Linked DNA regions of Homo sapiens: region 1 is linked to region 2. Evidence: promoter capture Hi-C in human tissues and cell types (Jung and others, 2019). All regions are on one chromosome and are shown on one strand. The core of a region is centred on a gene start or on the middle of the fragment in contact, and the rest is flanking DNA. Distances in the headings are between cores, read along the strand shown. Region 1 has its middle 35 kb from the start of CD53. Region 2 holds the start of KCNA10 (potassium voltage-gated channel subfamily A member 10).

Evidence for each region. The method cuts DNA at HindIII sites, captures the fragments that hold promoters and counts their contacts. A contact is called where the count stands out against the background at its distance.
Region 1: a contact is called between a fragment that was not itself captured here and the fragment with the promoter of KCNA10 in region 2, in 1 of the 25 tissues and cell types used here (spleen).

What each region holds. Positions count from the first base shown.
Region 1 is chr1:110,836,573-110,839,501 of GRCh38, reverse strand. No RefSeq gene overlaps it. Among named protein-coding and RNA genes, the nearest start is that of CD53, 35 kb to the left of the region's middle. The HindIII fragment of the contact is 9,467 bases long and covers 1-2,929 here.
Region 2 is chr1:110,517,542-110,520,447 of GRCh38, reverse strand. It overlaps KCNA10 (potassium voltage-gated channel subfamily A member 10), which reads left to right and starts at 1,273. Exons shown (of 1, transcript NM_005549.2): 1 at 1,273-2,906. The coding sequence starts at 1,661. The HindIII fragment of the contact is 7,025 bases long and covers 1-2,906 here.

The DNA of each region.
Region 1 (2,929 bases), core at 205-2,704, 320 kb before region 2:
GATAATTATTTTTATGTATCTGTATATCTCTTTGGGGAGTATTGTCTTCTTAATATGAAGTCCTCTAATCCATGAACATGAATATCTTTTTCTTTATTTAGGTCTTTAATTCCTTTCAGCAATGTTTTTGTAGTTTTCAGTATACAAGTCTTGTCTTGGTTAAATTTATTCTTAATTTTTTTATGGTATTGTGAATGAAATTTTTTTAAACTTTCATTTTCAGATTATTCATTGTTAGGATGTGGAAATAAAACCGATTTTTTGTATGTTTACCTGGTAATCTGCAACTTTGCTTAATTCATTTATCAACTCTAGTAGTTTTTTTGTGTGTAGATTCTTTGGGATTTTCTTTATATGCGATTATATCATTTGAAAATGGAAATATATTTACTTTCTCCTTTGCAGTTTTGATACAATGCCTTTTATTCTTTTTCTTATCTAATTTTCCTGCTTAGAATTTCCATAACAATGTTGAATGGAAGTGACAGAGATGGACATCCTTGTCTTGTTCCTGATCTTAGGGCAAACCTTTCAGACTTTAATCATCAAATATAGTGTTAACTCTGGGTTTTTTTTATATAAGGCTTTTATCATGTTGAGGAAGTTCTCCCCTATTTCTAGTTTGTTGAATATTTTTATTATTATAAGGTGCTGGATTTTCTCAAATTCTTTTTCAGCATCAGTTGAGACAATCATATGATATTGTCCTTTATTCTATTACTGTAGTGTATTATATTGATTGATTTTTTTATATGAAACCATACTTGCATTCTTGGGATAGACCCCATTTGGTCGTGGTGTGTAATCCTTTTAATATGTTGCTGAACAAACTCCTGGGCTCAAGCAATTCTCTGCTCCAGCTACCCAGGAGGTTTTTAGTATACATATCTTTCACCTCCTTGATTAAATTTATTCTTGACTATTTTGATTTTTTGTATATATTATAAATGGTATTGTTTTCTTCATTTCTTGTTCAGATAGTTTGTTGTTAGTGTATAGAAATGCTACTGATTTTTGTATGTTGATTTTGTACCCTGCTACTTTATTGAATTTGTTTATTAGTTCTATTTTTTGCTGGAATCTAAATTTTTCTAAATATAAGGTCCTGTCATATGCAAACAGACAATTTAACTTTTTCCTTTCCCATTTGGATGGCTTTTAATTCTTCCTCTTGCCTGATTACTCTCTCTAGGGCTTCTAGTACTGTGTTGAATATACACGCAATGGAATACTATTCAGCCTTTAAAAAAGAAAATCCTGTCATTTGCAGCAACATGGAAGAAGCTGGAGGACATTATGTTCAGTGAAATAAGCAAGGCACAGAAAGAAAAATACCACATGGATTCTAAAAAGGTTAAACTCATAGGAACAGAGAGTAGAATAGTGGTTACCAGTCTGGGAAACGGGGTTAATAGAGAGATGTTGGTCAAAGGATATAAAATTTTAGTTGGACAGGAGGAATAAATTCAGGAAATCTATTATACATCAAGGTGAATACAGTTAATAACAATGTATTGTATACTTGAAAATTACTAAAATAGTAGATTTTAAATGTTTTCACCACAAATATAATAAGTATGTGAGGTAATCATATATTAATTAGATTGATTAGGCATTTCACAATATATACATATATCAAAACATCATGCTATACAAAACTAATATATATAATTTTTATTCAGTAAAAATAATTAGTTTTGAAAAGAGTTTAATGTAATATTTTAACAGTTTAAATTACTGTAAAAATCAATGATGAATAAAATATTTAAAAGTTTAAATCATTTACCTGCCACTTATACGTGAGAACATGTGGTATTTGGCTTTCTGAATGCAAAGAAGGGAACAACAGATACTGGGGCCTACTTGAAAGTGAAGGGTGGGAGGAGGTAGAGGAACAACAACAAAAATAACAATTAGGTACTAGGCTTAGTACCTGGTTATGAAATAATCTCACAGCAAACCCCCATGACACAAGTTTACCTATAGAATAAATCCACACATGTATCCCAAAATCTAAAGTAAAAGCTAAATAAATTTCCATACAAAATTTGCAAAGTGCATATATGACAAAGAACTAGTAATCAGAATATATAAAGAACGGTCAAAACTCACCAGAAAATAATCTAGTTAGAAAATGGCAAAAGACATAAAAAGACATTTCACTAAAGAGGATATACAGATGGCAAATGAGCACATCAAAATATGTTCAACATCATTAGCCATTATGGAACCACAAATTAAAACAGCAATAAAATATCACTATACACCTATCAGAATGGCTAAAATAAAAACAAAGACATCAAAATCTGGCAAGGATGCAGAGAAATTGGATCCCTCATATCTTTGTAGAAATGTAAAACAGCATAGCTGCCATGAAATACAGTTTGGCAGGTTCTTTCAAAACTTAACCTGCAATTACCATACAACCCAGCAATTGAACTATTAGGCATTTAATCCAGAGAAATAAAAACTTATGCTCACAAAAAATGTGTACAAATGTTTATAGCAGCTTTATAGTAATAGCCAAAAACTGGAAACAATCCTTATGTCCTTCAGTAACTGGTTTTAAGCAAACTGTGGCATATTCATACCATGGAATATTAATCAGCAATAAAAAAGAATAAACAATTGCTACATGCAGCAACCCGGACAAATCTCTATAGAATTATGCTAAATGGGGGGAAGAAAGCTGATTTCAAAGGGGTTACCTTCTCATGATTCCATTTATACAACATTCTTTTTTTCTTGAGTGGAAACAAACCAAACTTTAATTTTTATAATCTTTTGAGTGACCGGATTACAAGGAGTTTTTACTTTCTGTTTCATACTTGAATTTTTTCTAATTCTGTTACAATAAACATGCTACAAAGTAAGCACTAAAATAAGTAAGCAACGTACTTCATTACTGAGGCCTCAATTCAAATGCTAC
Region 2 (2,906 bases), core at 24-2,523:
ATCCTTCCTCATTCCACAACTGAGGAAGCAGCAGCTCCGTGAAATTAGGCCGTTTGCAATGGCCACATACTCCTGAGAGGTAGAATGGGTACTCTACCAGTGCTGACCAACCAGACTTGAGCTCATCATTCAACACATGGCACCTGAACTGAGAAAAGGGGTCATGGGATGGAAAGAGCTCTGGACCCCTGACAATTCTGTGGCCCTAGCCTACAGCTCCCCACAAGGCTCAGCTCCTATATAGGGACTCCATGGTCTAGTGGGAAAGGCCCTGGGCCAGAAGGCCATGGCCAGGTTTAGGTCAGGACTCTGTAGCACTAGTTATGTGACCTTAGGAAGTCACTTTGTCCCTGTGACTTGGTTTCCGCATCTGCAAAACAGAGATAACATCTAACCTCACGTGATTATTGTCATCTAGTGAGATAAGTGAATGTGGAATCACTTTGAAAAGACTACAACACTACACTGCAGGATAGCCTTGTCGCCTGTAAAGGAAACCTCTCCAAGGCTGTGACCACTACAGATTTTGCCTGAGGTTAAGTCCCTTACTTCTCTCCCACTCCCACCCCCAGCCTGCCTGGGTTCAGTGTTCTTAAATTGAAACTGAAGCTAGAATGAACCTGAGGAAAGAAATATTAGTCTATGTGTATAGATGTCCAAGCCCACTGGGCATGATTTCCTAACCCCACCTCCAGCGTGCGCGCGCACACACACACACACACACACACATATACACACACACACACAGACACACACAATTATTTACTTCCTTCCCACCTAAAATGATTTCTCAAAATGAAATTACTTCCTATGGACACCTTGGACTCAGGCCAAAAAAAATTCCAATTGCTGGTAGTTTCTAAAGTGCTTGTTATGTGGGAAAGTTGACAAAAAACAATAGCTATAATATAGTGATCTTTCTTTCCACCAAGCATTCCATACGTGTTATCTCATTTGAGGTACCTTCAAAACAACTCTAGGAGTTATTTCCAGGTGAGGGGTCATTTAGAGGACATTGTCGATTGGCCAACCCAGCGTCTTGTTTTTCCTTCCCTAAAGAATCCCCATTGGGTTCATAGATCTGGTTCCACCCTTCACCACTTGGTCCAGAAGCAGGGGTGGAAGTGATGCAAAATGGTTGAATTCTAGATATATTTTGAAGACATGACCAAAAGGATGTGTGAGGGACTGGCTGTTGGTGTGAAAGAGAGGCATTACGAATGAGATTGGGCATGGAGACGTGTTTGGTGAGACAGAAGGCTTCATGCAAATACAAGATCATGCTTTTTATTATTAAGGAATGTTAACTTCCTCTTTTAGTATGGCCCCTCTGCCATCACATATGGAGACCATCCTTTGCTGGGGAGAATCTCCCCTTCTTTGCCAGGATCCTTTTTTTGCAATTTCTCCTAGTTATTAGTTTATGCAAACTCAGGGGTACAAAATGATTTTAAGGGAAGCATGCTGCCAAAATAACCATGACGTTCCTTCCCAAGCTACAAATAAGTCATTGATTAGCCCATTGGTGTACCTTACCTCAATAAACAAGGGCCAGTTGTATTCTGCCCTGGATCTTGTATAATGAACTTCTTCTTCTCCATAGCTCACAGCAGGCAGTGAAGGCTGAGGATCTTCATGCTTCTTCCCTGGCTCCCCTAGAATGGATGTGTGTGGCTGGAAAGAAATGGAGGTTGCGCTGGTCAATTTTGATAATTCAGATGAAATCCAAGAAGAGCCAGGCTATGCCACAGACTTCGACTCAACCAGCCCAAAAGGCCGGCCTGGGGGCAGCTCCTTCTCCAACGGGAAGATCCTCATCAGCGAAAGCACCAACCATGAGACGGCCTTCTCCAAGCTTCCGGGAGACTATGCTGACCCCCCAGGGCCTGAGCCAGTGGTCCTAAATGAAGGAAACCAGCGGGTGATCATCAACATTGCTGGGCTGAGATTTGAGACCCAGCTCAGAACCCTTAGTCAGTTCCCAGAGACTCTCCTGGGAGACCGGGAAAAAAGGATGCAGTTCTTTGACTCCATGAGAAATGAGTATTTCTTTGATCGGAACCGGCCCAGTTTTGATGGAATCCTATATTATTACCAATCTGGTGGGAAAATTCGGCGCCCAGCCAATGTTCCCATTGATATCTTTGCTGATGAAATCTCCTTCTATGAGCTGGGTAGTGAGGCCATGGACCAGTTCCGGGAGGATGAAGGCTTCATCAAAGACCCTGAAACACTGCTACCCACCAATGACATCCACCGTCAGTTCTGGCTCCTCTTTGAGTACCCTGAAAGTTCCAGCGCTGCCCGTGCTGTGGCCGTGGTCTCGGTGTTGGTTGTGGTCATCTCCATCACCATCTTCTGCCTGGAGACACTGCCAGAGTTCCGGGAGGATAGGGAGCTAAAGGTGGTCAGAGACCCCAATCTCAACATGAGCAAGACAGTCCTCTCCCAGACCATGTTCACCGACCCTTTCTTCATGGTGGAGTCTACCTGCATCGTGTGGTTCACCTTCGAGCTGGTGCTCCGGTTCGTGGTCTGCCCCAGCAAGACTGACTTCTTCAGGAACATCATGAACATCATTGACATCATCTCCATTATCCCCTACTTTGCAACTCTCATCACAGAGCTAGTCCAGGAGACAGAGCCGAGTGCCCAACAGAACATGTCCCTGGCCATCCTGAGGATCATCCGCCTGGTGAGGGTCTTCCGCATCTTCAAGCTCTCGCGCCACTCCAAGGGGCTGCAGATCCTCGGGCAAACACTGAAGGCGTCCATGCGGGAGTTGGGGTTGCTCATCTTCTTTCTCTTCATTGGAGTCATCCTCTTCTCCAGTGCAGTCTACTTTGCTGAGGTGGATGAGCCAGAGTCCCATTTCTCTAGCATTCCTGATGGCTTCTGGTGGGCAG